Regions from separate parts of the Homo sapiens genome. Here region 2 is linked to region 1. Evidence: promoter capture Hi-C in 16 types of primary human blood cells and fetal thymus (Javierre and others, 2016). All regions are on one chromosome and are shown on one strand. Each heading gives the region's core, a stretch centred on a gene start or on the middle of the fragment in contact. The rest is flanking DNA. Distances are from core to core; before and after follow the strand shown.

Region 1 (6,996 bases), core at 692-3,191:
CGGGCAACATAGCAAGACCTTGCCTCTACAAGTAATAAAAAATGTATCCAGGTGTGGTGACACATACCTGTAGTCCCAGTTACTTAGGAGGCTCAGGTGGGAGGATCGTTTGAGCCCAGGAAGTTGAGGCTACAGTGGGCCATGATCCAGCAACTGCACTCCAGCCTGGGCAACAGAGTGAGACACTGTCTACGAAAAAAAGGTTTAAGGCAGTTTGGGGAGTCAAAACCTTTGAAGGCATCTACCCAGGTATCTCCAACCCATGTATGACGGGCTTTTCTTTTCTTTCTTTTTTTTTTTTAAAAGACAGAGTCTCACTCCTGTTGCCCAGGCTGGAGTGCAGTCACAGCTCACTACAGCCCTGACTTCCAGGGCTCAGGTGATCCACCCACCTTAGCCTCCCAAGCAGCTGGGACCACAGCCGTGGCCACCATGCCCGGCTAATTTTTTGTGTTTTCAGTAGAGATGGGGTTTTGTCATGTTGCCCAAGCTGGTCTTGAACTCCTGAACTCAAGCAATCTTCCCGCCTTGGCCTCCCAAAGTGCTGGGATTACAGGTGTGAGCCACTGTGCCCAGCCTCATCTTTTCTTAGCAGGGATCCAAACTTAGTGGAAGAGTATTGCCTTGTTTGGGTGTTTTGCTATTTTTGGAGTTCAGTCAAACAGGGATGTTAATTCCTGGGCCTGGTTCTTGTCTTTGACCTGCTGCAGTAAATGAAGCTTCTCTATATGTAACGGGACAGATTCACTGGCTTACAACTGTTTGTTGCTTGCCTTCAGCTGACCACTATTCTTAAGAGTCTCGGTTGGCACTAAGCAATAGCTATCCAATCCCCCTTTCCTTCCTTTTATCTACTACGTTCACCATATATGAAATGTCTGATACTTCACCCACTCGTGGATTCCATTTCACTAGTTCACCCTCCTACTTCACCACTGGTGAGTGATGCAGCCTCGAATCCCATCTTCTCACCAGCTTTAATGCTGCAGAATGGTTTCTCCAGAAGCAGACGCTGCGACTGAGTTTGGGGTACGAGGATGTTGACATGGTATCAACACCCGTGAAAGGAAGGGGAAGGAAGCAGGACTGGGCGGAGGAAGAAGGGTATGTAAGTCCCGCAAAGCTTTGGCCAACCTCGTGTGGAGCTCTGGAACGAGAACTGCTGAAGTTCGCCAGACTCGGGCACTCCTGCCTAACTCAGTAACAGGCGGGCGGCATCGGGACACGGACACGCTGCTCAGGCCCCGCCACAGCCACCCTCGCACCGTCAGACACACTCCCACACATTCGGGGAGCAGGGCCTTCAGGACGCCGGCGGCGCCCTCTCAGTCTAGCTCCGCCAGGCCCCTCGTCCGTCCTCCCGCCCTCCAAGGTCACCTCGCGGTCCGACATGGCTGCTGGGGCTCCTTCGGGGCCAACGATGTGTACTTCTAGGGCTGTTTTTTAAAGCAAAGGAGTGAACACAGGTAAAGGCACGAGAAAGGTGCCTCGACGCCACCACGGACTGCGCAGCGTTCGCGATCAGCACAGCCCGAAAGGGAAGACAGCGGTCAACGCGGACGCGCCATGGCGCGGGGACCAAGGAGGAGCCCCGAGAGGGGCGGGGCTGGCCGGAGGGCCGCGCGCGGGGCCACCAGCGGCGCCTAGGGGTCAGCGCCAACGCCCACGGGTTGGTCATCCCCACTTAGGCGCCTCGGGCCGCAACTAAGCAGCCTGCCCGCCTCAAGCCCGCCACCCTCAAGCAGGCCCAGCGCAGAGCCTGTCGGGAGCGGCGCTCTCCCGCCTCTCCCAATGGGAGCCCGGAGCGGCATCGACGCGTCTTCGGGGCCAATGGAAGCGAGGCTCTGGTGTTGCTGGGCGGGGCCGGGAGGGCTGCGCGGGCCCGAGACCCACTGCGCACGCGCGCTCGCTACCCGCCCTTCCCGCCGCGCACGCGCTCCCGTGTAGGGCCGGCCGGGCGCTCAGGAGCGCGCGGGGCAGCGGCGGCGCGGCGGAGCCATCCGCGCTCGTGCCCGCGCGGGTGCGTTGCTGTCCTGGCCGCGCCCCTGTCCCGCCGCCTCCCGCTCCTCGCCTGGCGGATGTAGGTTGTTGGCCTGAGGGGAGCTACGTAGCCGAGGTTTGCGCTGCCGCCGCCAGGCCCGGTCCGGTTCCAGCCTCTGCCCGGACGCTAGCCGGCCTGGCCATGGCTGACCGCGGGTGCCCGCTGGAGGCGGCGCCGCTGCCTGCCGAGGTGCGGGAGAGCCTGGCTGAGCTGGAGCTGGAGCTGTCGGAAGGTGAGCCGGACCCCGCCCTCAACCCCCGCGACCCGCCCTCAGCCCGGTCCCCCGCGCAGCCCCTCACTCCGGGACCCCCGCGCGGCCCCTCACTCCAGGACCCCCGCCCTTCACCCCCGGGACCCCCACGCGGCCTCGCCCCTGGGACCTCTGCCCCTCAACGGGACCCCGGTTCCTCTACCCTGGAACCCGCCCCTCGCCCCGGAGACACCGTTCCTCAACCCTAGGACCCCGCCCCTCATGTGGGACCCCAGCACGACCCCTCGCCCCGAGACCCCGGCCCCTTACCCCCGGGAACTCCCGCCCCTCACCCCCGGGACCTCCTGCCCCTCACCCCCGGAACCCCGCGCGGCCCCTCACCCCGGGGACCCCGCCCTTCACCCTGGGAGCCCCGCGCTGCCCCTCCGGACTCCCGACCCTCAGCCCCGGGACACCCGCGCGGCCCCTCAAACCAGGGACCACTGCCCCGCCTCTCATACAAGGACCCCTCCCCCATACAAGGACTCCTCCCCCCAGGCCCTTCACACCTGGGACCCTTACTCCTCACCCCGGGACGCCTGCCAAACTTCTGGAGACCTTTCCCTATCCCCAGCTGCTCCCCCAATGGGATCCGACCCCAAGGACTGGCTTTGACTAGGTCGTTTGGACAGGTGTGAGAATCTTGAGAGGAATGACCACTTTTGCCCCAAGCTGTGAGCCCCGCTTTTCTCAAGGCTGTAGGTCTGGGCTTGGTCTGGGCTTCACCAGGATGACTGCGCCCGTTGTCCGCAGGCAGCTACTTCCCTTGGAGCTGGGAGCCCTTGCCGCGCGCCTCATACTCTAGGAGCTGCACCCTGTGCCTCATTTTATTATCTATAAAGTGGGGTTATACCAGCACTTTCCATTTTGGATTGTTATGAGGCTAAAATACCTTAATATATGCAAAGCACATAACACTTAGGAGTTGTTAGCCCCCTCATGGAATTTTTTAAAGTAAAAAAAAAAAGTCGTATAAATGGTTGGTTGATAAAAATAGACTGGAGTAATCTGGCTTCAGAGGTGGTGGGTGGCATTTCCCATTTGGATGTTATCCCTTTCAAGGCCTGTGTCCTGATATTCCTTTTGGCTGTCTTTGGGAAAGAGTTAAGTTCTTCTCCAGTGTCAGAAAGGACTTGCAGTCCTTGAAGAAAAGCATGTAATTGATTCTTACTCTGTTTTTGAGATCTAAATGCATTTTCAGCTTTTAGAATCCATTTTTTAAATAATCTTATTATCCTTAATTTAAGTTTCAGATTGATAAGATTTTGCTGGGTCTGGGGTAGTTATTTCTCAAAACATCTAAATAATATGCACTAGCATACAGTAAGTCATTTAATCCTTGCCAACCTTAGGGAGGTAGATGCTGTTGTGATCTTGTTTTACATATAATACAACATGTACTTGCAACTATTTTGAATTCAGCATTCAGATTTTTAACAATGTTGTGACATGTGGCACATTTTTTTTTTTTGAGACGGAGTCTTGCTCTGTTGCCCAGGCTGGAGTGCAATGGCGTGATCTCGGCTCACTGCAACCTCTGCCTCCCAGGTAGAAATGATTCTTCTGCCTCAGCCTCCCGAGTAGCTGGGATTACAGGGGCTTGCCACCACGCCCAGCTAATTTTCGTATTTTTAGTAGAGGCAAGGTATCACCATGTTGACCAGGCTGGTCTCAAACTCCTGACCTCAGGTGGTCCGCCTGCCTCGGCCTCCCAAAGTGCTGGGATTACAGGCATGAGCCACCGTGCCTGGCTTGTGGCACATTTTTAAAAATGGAAGTACAGGCTGAGTACACAGTGGCTCATGCTTGTAATCCCAACACTTTGGGAGGCCACGTTGGCTTGGAGACGGGAGTTCAGAACAGCTTGGGTAACATAGCAAGACTCTGTCTCTACAGTATTAAAAAAAATTAGCTGGGCATGGTGGTGTGCACCTGTAGTCCCAGCTACTTGGGAGGCTGAGGCAGGAGGATCACCTGAGCACTGGAGCACTCCAGCCTGGGCAACAGAGCGAGAACCTGTCTCTTCTCACCAAAAAAAAAAAAAAAAAAAAAAGGAAAGAAATGGATGGATTTGAGAATTCTTGGTGATTAGATGCTCCTAGGCAGTCTGACAAACTTAAATTAGGAATGGGTTTGACAGGATCTACTGTACTGCATTTGTTAAGGCTCTTTAGGGAAAATCACATATACGCAGTTTAGATTCTGTGCATTTCAAACATATTTTTGCGTATTGCTCCTAATTTCTGCTCCAATGTATTCATTATTCCCTCAATTTTTTGTGTTGTAGTTGTGTTTGAGTGCTTGCTAGGCATTGACAATTGAATCCTTTCCTCAAAGAACTTTATAATTTGTGCGACAGAACACAAGTACTTAAATGAAAGAAATGTTTCCTATCTGTTGGATCCATTTATGCTATTGTCATCTTAGAGATATGTAGGGGATGTATAGGTAAGTAAAGGTATAAGATTATGTAACATGGAGAGGAACCTCGAAAAATAGCTTAAGCTGAGAAAGGGGGTAAACAAAAAAAGTATTGAGCCCAGAAATGGTGGCTTAGGCCTGTTATGTTTGCATTTTGGGAGGCCCAGGCAGGAGGATCACTTGAGCCCAGGAGTTTGAGACCAGCCTAGGCAACATAGGGAGACCCTGCCTCTTCCAAAAAAAAAAAAAAATTGGCTGGGCATGGTGGTGTGTGCCTGTAGTCCCAGCTACTTGAGGGGCCGAGGTGGGAGGATCACCTGACGAGGTTGTGAGCCTTTATAGTGTCACTGCATTCCAGCCTGGGAGACAGAGTGGGACCTTGTCTCAAAAAAAAGTGTTAAAGGGAAGACAGCAGAGAACAGAGTAGTAGAGTGGCAGCCAAGGAGGTGGAAGCTCTGGCTTCTTGGCTTCTTTCCCTGCTCCTAGACTGGCCTGACACTTTTCTTTTGGCCAAAATAGGTCAGTGATTACTTAGGCACAGTCACACGTGGACCTGCTTCCAGGGCGCTTCCACAGGTTAATGCTGGCTTATGTAGTTTATGTGGTGGTTGTTGTTGACGTGGGCTCTCCCTGTTGGATTTGGAGATGCTTACTGGTAAGGACTTTGTTTTAGGCAGATTTTTGGCTTCTTCACACAGTGGTGGGCATCTGGTAAAGTGTCTGTGAATCTCCTGTGGATTACAATGTCTCTAAACGTGGGTTTAGTTAGCTGTAAAAGGGGGTGAATACCAGCTTTATTGACATTCCAGGTTTATTGTCAAGATTCAGTCACATAGTGTGTGTGAAAATGCTTCGAAACTGGTAAGGTGTTTTATTTATATAATTAAAGGGAGATATTAGTAATGAGTTATAGTCCTAAAACAACCAACATTAGTGTTTCATTGTTATAATTTTTATATATTGTCAAAATAGTGTAACTTTTTTATAGCATTCACATTTATCTAAGTGAGAAATTGCCTAAAACTTAAGAGTTGTCACTGTGCTTGGTAGGTTGGAAGAAGAAGCTTAACAGTGACAAAGATGCTGTCTTCAACAGAAACTGGTAATGAGTGATACCTGAATAATCTAGAAAATCCTGCATGCCTTCCCCTCAGCCTGTTGAAAGTATCCTCTGCCTTTCTTCATACCTCACACCTGGCCTTATTCTCCAGCATCCTCACTGCATTCTCATCATCAACCATAGTGATTGGCGTTGGCCCTGAGGGAAGGTTCTGGTAGAATGCTATGATTTATTTCCATAGGGCAAGTTTGCTGAATTTCTGTTATAGATTCCCAAGAGGGAAATAAGGCATAGCTGTGTTCTTGCTCCTTAACTTTTCTGGCTGTTTTGCCCTCTTGACTTAGGAGTCTGCTTCAGATTAAGATGAAGATGAAGAGTAGAAGTACATGGAACCCCACTCTTCTTAGACCCCCTGCCCCCCAATCATGAACACATACAGAAGAATTCATATGTGTGGTTCCTGAAAACCTATCAGGATGTTCATTGATGGAAGTGAGATCATTAGAGGTATAACCTTGATATTTAAAAAAGAATTAATTCCCAAACCTTTGTGCTTTGCCTGTTGCTGTAACAAATTACCTTGGACACACCTCACAGCTGATTTTGGCACACCAGTGCTGTACGTGTCTTGGAGCTATTGCTGCTGAACTGCTTTAAAAACATGGACAGTGGTATTTTGTTCTTTGTTTTAATAGACTACAGTGGGTTAGAGAGGAAATTCCTACACAATAGGCTACCTTTATCCCATTCCAATTACTTTATTCTGGTTAATAGGTCTATTCCATAGCTTTAACTTTAGTCTTTTTCTTGATTTCTTATATTCTAACAATGCAGGACTTCTAGTCTAGATGGAATAAAATGAAAAGGGGGAAAAAACTCTGGGTATACAGGAAGAGACTTCTCTCACAAAGCTTTTTTCCTCTTTAACTGTCTTTAATTTCTAAAATCTGGGATATATTTGTGTGTGTGTGTGTGTGTGTGTGTGTGTGTGTGTGTGTATATTTTGAGACGGAGTCTCACTCTGTTGCCCAGTCTGGAGTTCAGTGGCGCGATCTCGGCTCACTGCAGCCTCCACCTCCCGGGTTCAAGCAATTGTCCTGTCTTAGCCTCCTGAGTAGCTGGGATTACAGGCACACGCCATCACGCCTGGCTAGTTTTTTGTATCTTTAGTAGAGACAGGATTTCACCATATTGGCCAGGCTGGTCTTGAACTCCTGACCTCGT
Region 2 (4,049 bases), core at 1-2,500, 160 kb after region 1:
ATCTATCTATCTATCTATCTATCTATCTATCTATCTATCATCTATCTATCTATCTATGTAAAGTTAGTTAACAGTTAGTTACCAGTAAAATAGCCTCGAGCAGGTCCTTTGGGACATATTCTAGAACAAGGTGCCGTTATCATAGAGAATGACAGCTCCATATGTCTCATTGTCCTTGAAGACCTTCCAGGGGGAAAAGATGTGATGTAGAGGTGGAAGACAGTGATATTGATGGTTCTGACCTGTGTAGGCTTAGGCTAATGTGTTTGTGTTTCAGTTAAAAAAAGAGTTTAAAAAGTAAAAAATTTAAAAATTGTTAAAAATGGAAACAAGCTTATAGATTAAAGATATAAAGAAAGAAAATATTTTTGTATAGCTATACGATGTGTTTGTATTTTAAGCTAAGTGTTATTACAAATGAGTCAATGAGAAAAAAAGTTTATAAAGTAAATAAGTTATGGTAAGCTAAGTTTAATTTATTATTGAAGAAAGAATAATTTTGTTTTGTTTTTGTTTTTGTGACAGAGTCTTGCTCAGTTGCCCAGGCTGGAGTGCAGTGGTGCAATCTTGGCTCACTACAACCTCCACCTCCCAAATTCAAGCGATTCTCCTGCCTCAGCCTCCCAAGCAGCTGGGATTACAAGCATGCGCAACCAAACCTGGCTAATTTTTGTATTTTTAGTAGAGACGGGGTTTGACCATGTTGGCCAGTCTGGTCTCGAACTCCTGACCTCAAGTGATCCACCCACCTCGGCCTCCCAAAGTGCTGAGATTACAGACTTAAACCACCATGCCCGGCAAGGATATTTTAAATATTTTAAAATAAATTTAATGTATGACTGGCTGCAGAGGCTTAAGCTTCTAATCCTAGCACCTTGGGAGGCCGAGGCAGGAAGATTGCTTGAGTTCAGAACAGCCTGGAGTTCAAGAACAGCCTGGGCAATGCAGCGAGACCTTGTCTCTAAAATAAATAAATAAATAAATTTAGCACAGCTTAAGTGTACAGTGCTTATAAGCCTACAGTAGAGTACAGTGGTGCTTATAAGTCTGCAGTAGAGTACAGTAATGCTTGCAAGCCTACAGTAGAGTACAGAAATGCTTATAAGTCTGCAGTAGAGTACAGTAATGTCCTGGGCATTCACACTCACTCACCACTCAAGCACTAACTCACCCAGAACAACTTCCAGTTCTGCAAACTCTGTTCATCGTAAATGCCTTATATGGGTATATCATTAAAAATCTTTTATATCATATTTTTACTGTACTGTTTCTATGTTTAGACATAAAAATACTTACTATTGTGTTTCATTGCCTACGGTATCCAGTAGTAACATATTGGACAAGTTTGTAACCTAGAAGCAACAGGCTGTATCATACAGCCTAGGTATATAGCAGGCTGTACCAGCTAGGTTTGTGTAACTGCACTGTATGATGTTTGCGTAAGGACAAAATTGCCTAATGAAACATTTCTCAGTATGTATCCCCATCATTAAGTGATATATGACTCTATTTCATTCCATCTTCTTCTCGCTTGCATAGTTTTTCAGGAGAAGTTAGATGTAATTTTTATCTTGCTTCTCTATGGTAACGTGTTTATTTTCTCTGGTTTCTTTTGAGATTTTTCCTTTAACTATGATTTTGTGAAGCTTGAATGTGATATGCCTAGTTTTGGGGGAAGGGCATTTATCCTATTTGTGTTCTCTGAGCTTCCTGGAGCTGTGATTTGGTGTCTCACATTAATCTTGGGGAAATTCTCAGTCATTATTGCTTCACATATTGCTTCTGTTCCTTTCTCTCTTTCTTCTTTTATTCTCATTATGTGTATGTTACACCTTTCGCAGCTATCCCATAGTTCTAGGATATTATGTTCTGCTTTTCCCGCTCAGCTTTTATTCTCTTTGTTTTTTAGTTTTGGAAGTTTTTATTGTCATGTTCTCCAGCTCTCAGAGATTTTTTCCTCGGCCATGAGTCTACCGATGACTCCATCAAAGGGATTCTTCCTTTCTGTTACAATGGTTTTAAAACTCTAGCATTTATTTTTGATTATTTCTTAGAATTTCCATCTTTCTGCTTTTGTTGCCCATCCACTCTTGCATGCCATCTGCTTTTTCTGTTAAATCCCTTAACATATTACTCATAGCTTTTCAAAATTCCTGGTTTGATAATTTCAGCATTCCTGCCATATCTGACTCTGCTTGTGATGCTTTTTTAGGCTCTTCAAACTAGTTTTTGTCTTTTAGTGTGCCTTGTCATGTTTTTTGAAGGCTGGAAATGAAATCTGGCTAGAAGGAACTGCTGTAAAAAGACCTTTAGTGATGCGGTGGTAGGTGCGGGGGAGGGAAAGCATTCTACAGTCCTATGAGTAGGTCTAGGTCTGTGGTGACTCTGCCCCCTTGAATTGTGACCTTCACAAGTGCTCCCCCATCCTGTGAGTGGAACAGGATGGCTGTAGGGGGCTGAAATTGTGTATTTCCCTTCACCTGCATGAAAGTCCAGAGCCACCTGGAGTAGGTAGGTCAGGCTCTGATGTAACCCAGCCAGTTTGGCTCCTGAGGACAGGCATTGTTAAGAACAGAATGCCCTATCTCAAGATGTTTTCTTTTTTCTTCCCCCTGCTGAAGCACAAGGGGATCTTTCTCCAATATCCACTGTGAGGACCTGGTCGAGCTCCTGGAGGTAAAATTCACAAAAGTGTAGGGGCCCTCAGGACGGGGGTCCCCCTGGAGGTTTTTGTCCCTCAGACTTGCCACACTGAGCCTCCAGCAATTTTTCGGGTTTTCCTACCCTGGCACTGGAGGTTTCTGCTGGAGATAAGTTGTGATTCTCTCTCCCCACCTGTCTGTCTCTCCAATGTTGGGAACAATAGTTTGTCTTGTGACCTCACTTCTCTACTGGATCTAAGAGGGGCTGTTAATTTTTCAGTTTGTTCAGCTTTTTACTTGCTGTTAGGATGGAGCAAAGATTTCTTAGCTCCTTACATGTTGAACTGGAAACCAAAAATGAGTAGTTACTTTCTGAAGATATAAAATCCCCAGAGTAATATAATAAGACATCACAAATGTCACTAGTCCACCTGTAAAATAATGTGTACTACTTCTTCCTCCCAATAATAAAAAAGCTTGAGGAGACAACAAGGGTGCCAACAGGCAGCTGGTTGCTGGAGGGCGATCACCACGGTGTTTCCCAGGAGAGTGAGACCATGCACTCTTTGGCTTGGGAAGAAGGGTGCCATTGTGAGCAACGCTGCCATGACTCTGCGAATGCCCAGGACATTACTGTACTAGCCAAGAGCTATCACTTGACTCGTGGTCATGGCGTTGTGGAGAGCTGCCTGGCATTGCAGCCTGTGAAACTGTGGAGGTAATTGGGAGGGGGTGATGGAGGCTCAAGGCCCATGGTGTCTAGTCTACCGCACCTTGAATGCCAAAGGCACCCATGTGGTTCACCCTCTGTCTACTCTGCAGATGGAGGGAAATGAGATGATGTAGCTCCAGGTTCCCAGACGACAACCTGCCATGACAGGAAGGGGCTCTCCTTCCCAAGCAACAGTGCTGCCTGCCCAGGCCAGAGCACGAAGGAGCTTGTGGGTCAACAGGGGCCTCTATTTGAATATATCAATCTTCTGTTAAGATCTTCTTCAGTCACTTGGATGTCCCTTCTCCCTTCATCCATTCAGCAAACTCTTGGCTCCAATCAACTAGGCAGCCAGCCCCGGGCCTTGCTGGGGCTGGTCAGGGGGTGGGAAGGGGTCATTCCAGAAAGGCCTGGGCAGCAACATTGTTTTCTCCCACAAAGGACGGTGCCATCCGCCACCAAGCCACTCACGAGGCTGACTCCAGTGACCGATGGCCACAGGCAGAAAAGGAGGCTTGTGTTCTAAAGGAATGTGAGGAAGAGACAAAAAGCTTCTGTTGTAGCAAATGCAAGTATTGATGCAATGAGAACTCACTGCCTTTCCTGTTCTAAAGAATGCCACTCCCAGCCAGCAGGCAGCCATGGGGTCAGGGCTTGGGTGCTGGGGCCTTGGAGCTGGATTCAGATCCGACCTC

What was found. Contacts are between HindIII fragments. The CHiCAGO score rates a contact against its expected background, and 5 or more counts as called.
Region 2: a contact is called between a fragment that was not itself captured here and the fragment with the promoter of DIP2A in region 1, in 2 of 17 cell types (total CD8 T cells and non-activated CD4 T cells). The highest score is 6.3, in total CD8 T cells.

What each region holds. Positions count from the first base shown.
Region 1 is chr21:46,456,950-46,463,945 of GRCh38, forward strand. DIP2A (disco interacting protein 2 homolog A) reads left to right here and starts at 1,942. Exons shown (of 38, transcript NM_015151.4): 1 at 1,942-2,273. The coding sequence starts at 2,183. It overlaps LOC124905046 (a long non-coding RNA gene), which reads right to left and starts at 1,764. Exons shown (of 2, transcript XR_007067915.1): 1 at 1,378-1,764. DIP2A-IT1 (DIP2A intronic transcript 1) reads left to right here and starts at 5,522. Exons shown (of 4, transcript NR_046400.1): 1 at 5,522-5,573; 2 at 5,763-5,814; 3 at 6,117-6,279. RefSeq lists enhancers at 1,156-1,295, 3,066-3,135 and silencers at 1,536-2,085, 2,276-2,345. The HindIII fragment of the contact is 4,653 bases long and covers 1,122-5,774 here.
Region 2 is chr21:46,617,779-46,621,827 of GRCh38, forward strand. No RefSeq gene overlaps it. Among named protein-coding and RNA genes, the nearest start is that of S100B, 15 kb to the left of the region's middle. The HindIII fragment of the contact is 788 bases long and covers 857-1,644 here.